Regions from separate parts of the Homo sapiens genome. Here all the other regions are linked to region 1. Evidence: promoter capture Hi-C in human tissues and cell types (Jung and others, 2019). All regions are on one chromosome and are shown on one strand. Each heading gives the region's core, a stretch centred on a gene start or on the middle of the fragment in contact. The rest is flanking DNA. Distances are from core to core; before and after follow the strand shown. Region 1 holds the start of RAB3B (RAB3B, member RAS oncogene family). Region 2 overlaps OSBPL9 (oxysterol binding protein like 9). Region 3 overlaps ZFYVE9 (zinc finger FYVE-type containing 9). Region 4 overlaps NRDC (nardilysin convertase).

Region 1 (3,038 bases), core at 355-2,854:
GGAAAGAGCTGCCAGTGTGATGGGCAGTGTGAGTGAAAGGGCTGGGCAAGAAGCTCAGAAGAGTAAGCGTCTGAGGCAGAGGCCAGACAAGCAGAGGAGCTGTCAGCTTGGGTGGTTCCTAGGCTGGAGATGTACACTGTAGACAGGGTCATAATGGAACTTGGGGGGAAAATGGTTTTGGTATTTGACTCAGACCTCTAAGATCTGAGATGGGGGAGAAGTGTGGGGAAAGACAATGATTCTAGAGCAAGCCTTCAGCTGGCTCCTGTGACCTCAGGAAGACTGGAAGTCCATATCAGGATTTGAGGGTGGGGTATTTATTGCCTCCTCTATCTGCCTCCTCTAGTGGAAGTGGGACTTCCTAGGGCCAGGCCAGGCAAGAACATTTTTCTACTCCTGTTGACAGCCTCCTGGTAATGGGAAACCATTGAGAGGTTTTTGTTTGTTTGTTTGTTTGGTTTTTGATGGAGTCTGGCTTTGTTGCCCAGGCTGGAGTGCACTGCTGGAGTGCAGTGATCTCGGCTCACTGCAACCTCTGCCTCCTGGGTGCAAGCAATTCTGCCTCAGCCTCCCAAGTAGCTGGGACTACAGGCATGCACCACCATGCCCGGCTAATTTTTGTATTTTTAGTAGAGACAGGGTTTCACCATGTTGGCCAGGTTGGTCTCGAACTCCTGACCTCAAGTGATCTGCCCACTTTGGCCTTCCAAAGTGCTGGGATTACAGGCGTCAGCCACTGTGCCTGGCCGAGAGTTTTCTTAAACAAGGTTGATGGTAACATGGTGACATTTTTTAAAGGGTTGCTCGGGCTTGTGTCAAAATGATTTTGGTATCTGACTCAGAATGAATGGGACCAGGAAGTCTCACAGCTACCGAAGTCACCAGGAGTATGGCAGAACAGGGGCTAGTTAGGATGACCATGGGCCAGGGGCTGCAATCTTTAATGCATAAGGAACAATTGGGTGTCAGTGATGAGGAGGGGTGGAGGGTGGTATGACTGGAGACCACAGGAGAAAGAATTTTTGTACAAGGGTGGAAATGGCCATGCTGACACCACGTCCTGGTTTTATAGGGTGAATTGGAGAGTGAAGGCAGGAATTAGGAAGCTGTTGCATTAGTCCAAGCAAGAAGTGATGATGCTGGAGTCAGAACAAGGGCAATGGAGACACAGAGGAAGGGCAGGGATATGTTAAGGCGGTGGGATGTGGGGTGTGAAGGAAACACAGATAGGGTAGAGGACAGCGTCCAGGTTTCTGGCTTGGTTTCCGCTTGTAGTCAGCCTCCCTCTCTGGGCTTTTGTGAAGACGGAGCCATAGAACGGACCGGACCAGAAAGCAGTTTGGAAATGGCAAAACTGCTACCCATCATCAGCTACATTATCATCAAAGCTCTCTAATTACCCTAGTAAGTTCAGTCAATGGAACGAGGCATGACAATTAAGATAAATCACGAGAGTCACCCAGACATGGGGGACCTGGAGGTCCTGAGTCACCTCGGATTACACCTGCTAGGAGTTGAGGGCCGGGGCGGGGCGAACACAGACTCCGCCCTTGGGCGGGGCCTGGATGCGGCCGGAGCGGAGCAGTGCTGGAGCGGGAGCCTCAGCCCTCAGGCGCCACTGTGAGGACCTGACCGGACCAGACCATCCCGCAGCGCCCCGCCCCGGCCCCCTCCGCGCCCTCCCGACGCCAGGTCCTGCCGTCCCGCCGACCGTCCGGGAGCGAACCCGTCGTCCCGCACTCGGAGTCCGCGGTAAGGGGCGCGGCCCCGGCAGCCCGCCCGCGGAGGATCAGGGACCGATCCCCGGCGCGGGGCGCTGGGCACCGAGAGCGGGCGCCGAGAAGGAGCGCGGGGCAGCGGAAGGAAGCCGGGGGAGGAGCGAGGGAGGGGGCTCCGCGGCGGCAGAGGTGGGGCTCACCTAGGGAGGGGGCGCCGAGGGGGTCTCCCAGACGTTGGGGGCAGCCGGGGGAGCTCCAAGGGCGGGAGGGGAGCAAGAAAGACGGCGCTGGGGCTGGGAGGAGAGATGGGGGGCAACTGGAGGGCAGTGAGGGATCGCTGGGGGAAACGGGGGCGTGGGGGGCGGGGGAGCTGCGAGGAGGGCGGAGTGGGGCTGTGCGGAAAGGTGGTACCGGGCAGCCGAGGGGCAGCGAAGGGGGCGGTGAAGGGAGCGGACTGAGGGGAGCTAGAGCGGGGGTGCGGGGGGAGGCATGGAGGTGAGGAGCTGAGGGGAGGGGACTGGCTGGGCGGGGGTCGTTTGGAGCTGGAGGGGACTGAGGTGCCGAGGGCAAGGGGCGCTGGGCAGCTGGGGAGTGTCTGGTTGGGAGAGGGTCGGGGGTGGGGATGTGGGTATGGATAGCTGGGAAGGAGAAAGGCAGCAGGGCAGTGTCTGGTCGAAAGAGGGTCATTTATGGGGGATGTGGGTATGGATAGCTGGGGTCGGAGGTTGAGCCCGGCTGGGGACCGGCGTGGGGGTAACTGTAGATGGAAGACGAGGGGTGGGGCTTGGGGGCGGGAAGCTTGGGAGAATGGAAGGGTGAGAGGCCAGGTTGGGTCTACCCTGCTGCAGAGGAAGGGGGCAGGGAGCCGGTGGAGACACAGGGAAGTGGCCTTGGAAATGGACACAGGGGCCTACATTCTGGTCAGGAGTGGAGAGGAGGCTCTGGAATAGAGTAGGGTCTGGCGGCTGCAAGTGGAGGAATCGTGGGAGAACTTGGAGTGTATAGATAGGGTGGTGGGGCGCTGGGTCAGCCTGGGGAGGAGGCCAGGTGTGGGTCGTGGTGTAAGGGTGGAAAGGTAATGGGGGCTGGAGTGGTGTCCACGCACTAGCGGTGTCTCGGCCACTCAGGAGTCCAAGGAGGGGACCCAGGCACTGGACCTTGTTACACGGGCACCGGGGATCACAGAAAATAAGAGAATCGTGGACAGAAAAAGTCATCCAACTCTGTTCTGTAGTCCAAGCATGGAAGCAACTTTGGGGAGGGCAGGGCAGCAGCCTTTGGAAGCTAAGAGAGATGTGGAGGAGGTGGGAGAAAGATGGG
Region 2 (3,038 bases), core at 168-2,667, 220 kb after region 1:
ACACGTAATTTAAAAAAAATAAATATTTTTTTCTTCTACTTAGGATTTTTCTGAGAACTCTTATTTAACAGATTTTCTTCAATGTTTGTAGTGCTATACTGATACATGCTATTAAGTCAAACTGCTGTAACAGTGATGAAGAGAGCTGGGTTTAGCTGTCTTCAACCTGGGTTCAAGAGCTTGTTTAGCCTCTTCTTAGCTGTGAGGAGGCCCTGAAAAATTAACTCAATTTCTCTAAGTACCTGAAAAGGAAGATAATTACATGCCCTGCTTATATGTTAGGGTTCTTTTATTTTAAAGACTGAGTGAGGTTAAATGGGATGTGACTGTGTAGTATTTTTAAAAACTACAAAGTATTTGGAAAACAAACTCTTTTTGGAAAGTATCTGAAGTGAGAAAACATTCTTATAAAAGACACAAATTTAAGGCATTATTGTAACAATACTTTGGAATGCATAAAAGGAACCAAGATTTCAGAATCTGTTGGCAATCACAGCCATTTGTGCCAATAAAAATTTCAAAAATGACTTATTTTAAACACATTCAGTAAAAAATAATTATGATAATATCATTTATAATATAACAAGCTTTTAGCAGCTATGGACTCAAATATGGTTTATTTGGCAGAGAAAATTATGTGAGGCAAGAATTACAAACTTGATTGTGGCAAATACATCTGGTTGCCTCTCCCCATCCATGCTTCACCCCCAAGAACTCTGATTCAGTTCAGGTTCAGCTGTGGGCTGCCATGGCCTTCTCTTCCACGTCTCAAGGGGTGAATGTGGATTCATTTAAACCAATCATTTAGCCTCCCCCTTGCCAGTGGCAGGTTTAGGCACGAGCATATGCCTGATACTGGCCAATGAGATTCAACAGGAAGCCTAATGAGCCACTCCTGGAAAACAACGTCCTTCCTAACAACAACAACAACAACAACAACAACAACAACAACAACGCCAGCAGCTGTACAATCTAATGATTACTGAAGCAATTCCGGGGACAAACTCCTGCAAATGTTCTCCTACCTAGAACATTCCTAGTAAGTGTGTTGGGCTCCACAAATAAAAGTTGTCCTTGTGTCTCTGTTCTCACTTAGATTAGGGGTAAAAGGTTTTATTACAGACACTTACTTGAAGGTATTATGAATTAGTCTTTTTCTTAATGGCCCTCTAAATCCAAAACAAAAAGGAGTTCACTACTGACAAAGACTATAACACTGGAATTGATTTTGCCCTAACAAAAGTGAGAACTCTAAATTTAATCAACTCCCCAAAGCTCGGCAGAACAATAATCAATATGAAAGTTAATACAGTTCAAGCCTTCAAGACAAAGGCAGTAGTGGAAAGATTACAGGTTTTAAAATCATGGAGCAGATTAGAATCTCAGTCTGCCACTTAATATGACTTAACACGACTCAGCCACATTACTTAACTTCTGAGTTTTAGTTTCCTGATGAAATGAAGTTAATAACACCTACTCTGTGGTACTGTGGTGAGAATTAAGTGAAAGGAGGGGGTTTTCTAGCACAGTGGCAGGAATATACAAAGGCACCCATACACCAGTCTCCTAATTCAAGCATGCATTCTGTTGAGAGCTCCAAGTTTAAATTCAAATTCAAATCCAGACTATGGTAATTTTGCATGACTCAATATGTGTCATTTTGCGTGCCTGTAGTCCCAGCTACCAAGGAGGCTGAGGCAGGAGAATCGCTTGAACCTGGGAGACAGAGGTCACAAATATGTCACAATTTTACATTTACTACCTCTTCCAATCCTTACAATAACCCTCTGAAACAGGTTACTATGTGTCCAATTTGCATAGAGAACCCTGAAGTCCACAGAGGAAGAAACAGAAGAAACTCACTGAAGACCGTGCGTGGTTTGCTAATATTAGAGGTAGGACGAAAACACAGATCCTCTGACCCTAAGATTAGAACTCTACCAAATCTTAATCCATACAACTCATACACACTGTTCTCTATGAAATTATCCTAGCTTGACTTATTTCATCATTTATAAAATTTTGTTTACTTATCTACATCTATATTAAATCACAAGAAGACACAGGTATAAAAAGAAATTATGTCATTTTACTACATTTGCAGGCACACTCACCACGCAATCACTGAGAATCCATACATACCCACACAGACTTACAGCAAATTTGGTCTTACCTTAGTAAGATCCATTCCAAGTCTAACCTGCGACAAGAGATGCATGATAACGCTCTTGTGCTCCTCCACAGACCCTGCCTCCGCATCATCATCTCTGTCATCATGTGAATCAAACAGGTCTAAAATAAAGCAGATCTTATTAGAATGGTGCTAAATTGGGCCAATCTGTCCTGATACTAGAATTACAATTTTGTTTGTTTGTTTGTTTGAGATGGAGTCTCATTCTTTCGCCCAGGCTGGAGTGCAATGGCACGATCTTGGCTCACTGTAAACCTCCATCTTCCAGGTTCAAGCAATTCTCCTGAATCAGCCTCCTTGGCAGCTGGGATTACAGGCACGCACCACCATGCCCAGCTAATTTTTTGTATTTTTTTAGTAGAGATGGGGTTTCACCATGTTGGTCAGGCTGGTCTTGAACTCCGGACCTCAAGTGATCTGCCCACCTCGGTCTCCCAAAGTGCTGGGATTACGGCATGAGCCACCACATCTGGCCACAAATATTTTTAAAGAAAAAAAAGTTAAATTATCAAAGGTCACTTACCAGCATCACTTGTTCCATTGGACAAGGAAGAATTAAGTGATTCTGTGGTATCTGGGCGTTTTAGACTATTTCCCGAGCTGCTGTGTGTCAGGACTGAGGCAGATCCAGAAGAACTATAAAAACATTAATTACCTTATTTAAGCTAAAGAAAGCAATTTAGAATCATAGTAAGCTAGACTCGTACAGTTAGCTGGTTACATGCATGCATATATATGCTTTAGAATTCTCTTGATGACAAGGTCTCTTGTCTTATCCTTTATGCACAGGATGTGCTCAACAAAGCCATGTTGATAGTCAAGACCTAGAAGTCATCAAAAATTAGTG
Region 3 (3,038 bases), core at 217-2,716, 160 kb before region 1:
TAGTGGTGATTTTGAACCGAAAGGCTTGTATTTTCAGGAGAGACAGAGTTTCACCATATTGGCCAGGCTGGTCTCGAACTCCTGACCTCAGGCGATCGGCCCACCTCAGCCTCCCAAAGTGCTGGGATTACAGGCGTGAGCCACAGCGCCTGGCCTACAACTTTTATCCTCAGGCCAAAAACATTCCCTATCATCAAAGAATCTGGCAATGCATCTGCAAGTAAAAGCTTCAACAATTTACCTAATGACTGTAAATAAAAGTTATTAACCAGGAGCATGGTGGCTCATGCCTGTAATCCCAGCACTTTGGGAGGCTGTGGGTGGATCATTTGAGGTTAGTAGCTCCAGACCAGCCTAGCCAACATAATGAAACCTCGCCTCTATTGAAAAAAAAAAAGTTATGAACCGCAGATAGAGCCTTACATTACCACTTCACACTCATTAGGATGGTTATAATCAAAAAAACAGATAACAAGTGTTGGTGAGGACGTGAAGAAATTGGAACCTTCATACAACGCAGGTGGGATTGTAAAAAGGTGCAGCTACTTTGTAAAAACAATCTGATAGTTTCTCGAAAGGTTAAACATACAGCTACCATTTGGCCCAGCAATTCCATCCCTATAAATACCCAAGAGAAATGAAAGCATATTTCCACACAATAATTTGCACATGAATGTTCACAACAACATTATTTATAGTAGCCAAAAAGTGGAAACAGCCCTAACTGATGAATAAAATGTGGTATTTCCATACAATGGAATATTATTCAGCAATAAAAAGAAATGAAGTACTGACACTTGCTACTGAACCCTAAAACTATTATGCTAAGTAAGAGAAACCAGTCATATATCGTATGATTCCACTTACATGAAATGTCTCGATAGGCAAATCCATAGAGGCAGAAAGTACATTAGCGGTTGCCTAGGGCTGGGAGGATTAGGGAGATCCTGGGAGTGACTGTTAATGGGTACAAGTTTCTCTTTGGAGTGATTAAAATGTTCTAAAATTAGACAGCAGTGATGTTTGCACAACTCTGTGAATATATAATACTGTTCTAACTTTTCCAGTTCCGTAAATGGGCTATTTACCATAATTTAAAAGAAAAATATAAGTATTAATTAATTTGTAAAATAGAAAATACTTTATGCGTTGAGTATCCCTTATCTAAAATACTTGGAACCAGAAGCATTTGGGACAGATTAGAATTCTGACGCAAGTCTAAACACAAAATTCATTTGTTTCATGTATACTTATACGCATAGCCTAAAGGTAACTTTATACACTATTTTTAATAATTTTGTACATGAAACAAAGTTTTGACCATTTTGATTGTGACCCATCACATGAGATCAGGCGTGGAATTTTTCCACTTGTGAGATCATGTCAGTGCTCAAAAAGTTTTGGACCTTTGAGCATTTCGAATTTCAGACTTTTGGATTAGGGATGCTCAACCTGTAAAAACAGCACTTTTCAAATTATTTTATTAAATAAATTTTACCATTATAAAATATAAGGTATTCTACTACATAACTAAATGCTAATTCTACTGACACCTTGGTTCCTCCTTAATTTAGCAATCTCTAATACTTCAAAATTAGATTATGCTGATTTTACTTATTAATAGTAAACTACATAAATAATTAACAATCTTTCAACCTCTTTTTTTCAAAACTCAGAGAAATATATTTTCCAATTCCAGAGTCCGGATTTACCAGGACTCATGGGACTGAACTATAGCTCTGATTTACCCATTATATCATTTAATACTTACAATAATCCTGTAAGGTGACTATTATCAGTTGCATTTTATAGAAAAGAAAATTGAGACTTAAAGAGGGTAACAAACTTGTCCAAGGTTATAAGAAAAGACTGGCAGGCTATAAAATCTAGTTCTAGCCTACTGTAGTTTATAAGGAAAAATCTATGTTCTGAAAACAGTTCTTAAGTAAATTTAATAAATTGAGAGTTTTTTGAAAACTAAATATATGAACTATTTCTATTCAGTGCCTGCAACTACATCTTTTCCAATGATTATTATATACAGTTGTCTCTCTGTATCTGTGGAGGACTGGTTCCAGGAACCCACAGGATACCACAATCTGTGGATGCTCAAATCCCTTATATAAAATGGCACAGTATTTGCATATAACCTATGAACATCCTCCTGTATACTTTAAATAATCTCTAGACTACTTACAATGCCAAATACAATTGTAAGTGCTATGCAAATCAACTGTTATACTGTATTGGGTTTTTATTTGTATTATTTTTATTATTGTATGATTACTTTTGTGTGTGTGTGTGTGTGTGTGTGTGTGTGGATATTTTTGAGCCTTGGCTGGGAGGACCCACAGATACAGAGATCTGACTGTACTAAGAATGTTGCTCTATATAATGCAGGTCAAGTATACACAAGTAAAATTAAAGATCAATGTAAAACTCTGAAAATAAATAATTTGCAACAAGTGTACCCTATATAAAGGGAATACTAATTTATTGGCTAAAAATGAAATGGAAAACATACTAAAATCGAAATTGTTTTCCATAAAAAATTCCAAATCCCAAAAGTAGACTTAGTCTAAAAAAAATAAAGCAACCAAGTTTTAAGTCATGCAGAAATCCCAATGCCTGATTTTTGTTTTTCCCAAAAGGAAGAAAGAAATGTACATTTATTGAGCACCTCCTACATGACAAACACTGAGCTAATTGCTTTCGGTTACTTTTATCTCATGGAACCTGTTCTACTTTGCTAGGAGGGGTAGTGTTACCCCAATAGTACATAAGAAACTCAGAATCTAAATGTCACATCGCTTTAAGAGGTGTAGTAAGGATTCCTGCTCACATCTGACTCCATACTCTGTACCACATTATGCAATTAACAACCATAAAACACACATATATACGCCATATCTTTAGGAACATAAGAACTTAAGCTAAAATCCAGGCAATTATCTTTTAAACAAGCTTTGTGCCTTGCAACCAGTCTGTGGCTAGCACGTTTACAAGGTGCCACATAAAAGTTTACTGAATGGAATGAA
Region 4 (3,038 bases), core at 320-2,819, 130 kb after region 1:
AAAAGGAAAGTGATGTACAGAAAACAGAGATGAGGTACAGAAACAGCCAGATTTGTTACAGTTCGGGCATTTGGAGTATTTGAACATAGTTTGAACAGTTGGCTGCCTTTGATTGACTGAAACTCGGTAATTAGCACAAAAGTAGGTTACGATCTGTTTATACATCTAGTTAAGTTTCAGTTCACTGTGTACAGAGAAACCTTTAGGCCAAACTTAAAATATGTAAGGAGGTGGCTTTAGGTTAGACTTAATTTAACAGATGTTATATATATTGGTTTTCATCCACTGTTCCTGTCTTGTAACTCCCATAGCCCTTGTTAAAGTCTTTTTGTTACAATGTTGGGTGTGTCAGGTCTCATGTGTCTAGACTTAATTTAACAAATGTTACATATATTGGTTTTCATCCATTGTTCCTGGCTTGTAACTCCCATAGCCCTTGTTAAAGTCTTTTTGTTACAATGTTGGGTGTGTCAGGTCTCATGGGCAGGCCTCAGGAAACAGAATTTCTCAGACTTTCTCCTATCCATCTCTCATCTGCCCCAAGACAAGACCCTATAATCTTCCCTGCCTTTCTGATTGGGAGTTATAAGACCCTCCTCAGAGGGCGTCCCACCCTATCCTTGGAGGAAGGAATGCTGATATTTTGAAATTTCCATAAAAACCCAGGAGGACTAGGTTCCAGAAGCTTCAGGATGGCTCAACACGTGGAGGTTCTTGGAGGGTGGCCTGCACAGGAAGGGCATAGAAGCCCTGTGCCCCTTCCCCCATACCTCACTCTGTGCATCTCTTTATCTGTAATATCCTTTACAATAAACCAGTAAATGTAAGTGTTTCCCAAAGTTCTGTGAGCCCTCCAGCAAATTAATCAAACCCAAAGAGGAGGTCGTGGGAACCCCAACTTGAAAGCCGGTAAGTCAGAAGTTCCAGAGGTCTGGACTTGAAACTGGTATGTTTGTTTGTTGGCAGGGCAGTCTTGGGGACTGAGCCCTCATCCTGGGGGATCTGATGCTATTTCCAGGTAGTGTTGGAGCTGATTTGGAGGACACCCAGTTGGTGTCCACTGAAGAATTAATTGCACGGATTTGGTCACAGAAGACTTTGGTTGCTGACCATTGTAGTAGTATGAGAGAAAAAGAAAAACCGTTTGAGAGTTTTTCCTAGAAATGAAATACCTAGAAATGAAATTACTGAATGAAAAGTATTCAGAGTTTCCATTAAAAATAAAAATGGCTGTATTTCCCTACAAGAATGTGATACCATTTGAGATTCATCAGAAATGTGTGAGAATAATCTGTCCACTTATCAGCACTGGATAGCAATTGTTTTTATTTTTTGTTTAGTTAATTTGTTGGATGAAAAATATTTCATTAAGTTGATTGTCTTTTATTTCTAGTGAGATTGCGCATCATTTTATTTGACATCTTGTGTTCTTGTAATGTGTGTAGTATATATTATTATTATCATTATTATTTTTTTTTGACACAGAGTCTCCATCTGTCACCCATGCTGGAGTGCCATGGCGCAATCTTGGCTCACTGCAACCTCTTCCTCCCTGGCTCAAGTGATCCTCCAGCCTCAGACACCTGAGTAGCTGGGATTACAGGGGTGCGTCACCATACCTAGCTACTTTTTTTTGTATTTTTTGTAGAGACAGGGTTTTGCCATGTTGGCCAGGCTGTATAGCACATATTTTTAAGCTTATTTTTTAATAGGGTTTTTTTCTCTTAATGATTTGAAGGAACTCTTACATGTTGTTAGTTTTTCCTCCCAGTATGCAATTTGCTGTTTGATTTTGTTTATGATATTGTTTTATAAAAACTTAAAATTAGTATACAGTGAACTCTTTTCATTTTTTTTTTCTTTATAAGGGCTTGGATTTTTTATCTTGTTTGGTACAAATTTTCTTCACCCAAATATTATACCAATTTTTTTTTCTTAAATAAAAACATTCTTTCCTTTTAGCTCTGTTATAGAACTGAACTTGGGTCTGCTCGCCTGGCACAATAAGGACATAACCACACTGAGGTTTTGCAGCAGTAGAAAGGAAGGCATTTATTTTCAGGATGCTACGCAAAGAGGACCAGGTAGCTAATGCTTAAATCCTGACCTCCCCGATGATTTGCAGGTAAGGGTTTTTAAAGGCAGTGGTAAATTTCTGGATAGCAGAAGTTACAGACAAAATCATAAACCATACATGGAGGGTTACACACTGATTTTGGCCTAAAAGGTTGGGATATCTTGAAGCAGTGGTGTATAGGTCATAGGTACAGTAGAAGATTTTCTGATTTGCAGTTGGTTAAGGAGGCAAAGCTTTTTCTAAAAATTTGAGATCAGCAGAAAAGAATGTTAGCACTGGCTCATGGGTATAACCTTCTCCAGGCCCCTCAGAAAGAAATTTAGAACAAAGAAGGGGAGTCAGAGTTCAGTCCCCAGTTCCTCTCTATATGAGGTTGCTGTGCTGGCAGATCCTTTTGGTGTGGGCACAGGTTTCTGAAAAACAACTGGAGACATGTTAAGGTATTATCTTTAGTTTTTATAGGGAAGCAAACATTCTTGTGACTCTTAACTTCCTTGGCTATTTTTGTTGTTGTTAGAGATGGGGTCTCGCTATGTTGCCCAGACTGGTCTTGAACTCCTGGCCTCAAGTGATCCTCCCACCTTGGCCTCCCAAAGAGTTGGGATTACAGGTGTCAGCCACCATGCTGGGCCAGCTTGGCTGTTGTTACTGTTACCTGCTTGTTTATCAAGTTGCACATTTATTTTTCAGGGCTAGCTAGGTGCCTGAAGTTTCCTTTGAAATAACTGAAGATTTTCCTTTTTTCTATGCTTGGGGTCCCTGCGTCATCTCAATTCCCCATCTTTTGTCACCCATCAATCTTGTGGGGTACTGGGGTGCAGACTGCTCTGCCTACTTCCTGTTGAATTGGGGCAAAGATTGAGGACTAGGATATGAGGATATTAAGTTTCTTTTCTTTATTTTTTTGAGATGGCATCTTGCTCTGTCGCCCAGGCTGGAGTGCAGTGGCATGATCTCGGCT

What was found. The method cuts DNA at HindIII sites, captures the fragments that hold promoters and counts their contacts. A contact is called where the count stands out against the background at its distance.
Region 2: a fragment that was not itself captured here is called in contact with the fragment with the promoter of RAB3B in region 1 in 4 of the 25 tissues and cell types used here (dorsolateral prefrontal cortex, mesenchymal stem cells, pancreas and 1 more).
Region 3: a contact is called between a fragment that was not itself captured here and the fragment with the promoter of RAB3B in region 1, in 2 of the 25 tissues and cell types used here (ovary and spleen).
Region 4: a contact is called between a fragment that was not itself captured here and the fragment with the promoter of RAB3B in region 1, in 3 of the 25 tissues and cell types used here (dorsolateral prefrontal cortex, mesenchymal stem cells and spleen).

Annotation. Positions count from the first base shown.
Region 1 is chr1:51,989,266-51,992,303 of GRCh38, reverse strand. It overlaps RAB3B (RAB3B, member RAS oncogene family), which reads left to right and starts at 1,604. Exons shown (of 5, transcript NM_002867.4): 1 at 1,604-1,752. RefSeq lists a silencer at 1,581-1,690. The HindIII fragment of the contact is 14,307 bases long and covers 1-3,032 here.
Region 2 is chr1:51,771,859-51,774,896 of GRCh38, reverse strand. It overlaps OSBPL9 (oxysterol binding protein like 9), which reads right to left. Exons shown (of 24, transcript NM_024586.6): 13 at 2,715-2,827; 14 at 2,174-2,292. Among named protein-coding and RNA genes, the nearest start is that of MIR761, 63 kb to the left of the region's middle. The HindIII fragment of the contact is 3,384 bases long and covers 1-3,038 here.
Region 3 is chr1:52,145,310-52,148,347 of GRCh38, reverse strand. All of the region lies in intron 1 of ZFYVE9 (zinc finger FYVE-type containing 9), which reads right to left. The region is part of intron 4 of LOC107984956 (collagen alpha-2(I) chain-like); the gene reads right to left. Among named protein-coding and RNA genes, the nearest start is that of ZFYVE9, 4.7 kb to the right of the region's middle. RefSeq lists an enhancer at 1-487. The HindIII fragment of the contact is 5,601 bases long and covers 1-3,038 here.
Region 4 is chr1:51,854,313-51,857,350 of GRCh38, reverse strand. The region is part of intron 1 of NRDC (nardilysin convertase); the gene reads left to right. Among named protein-coding and RNA genes, the nearest start is that of MIR761, 19 kb to the right of the region's middle. The HindIII fragment of the contact is 3,238 bases long and covers 1-3,038 here.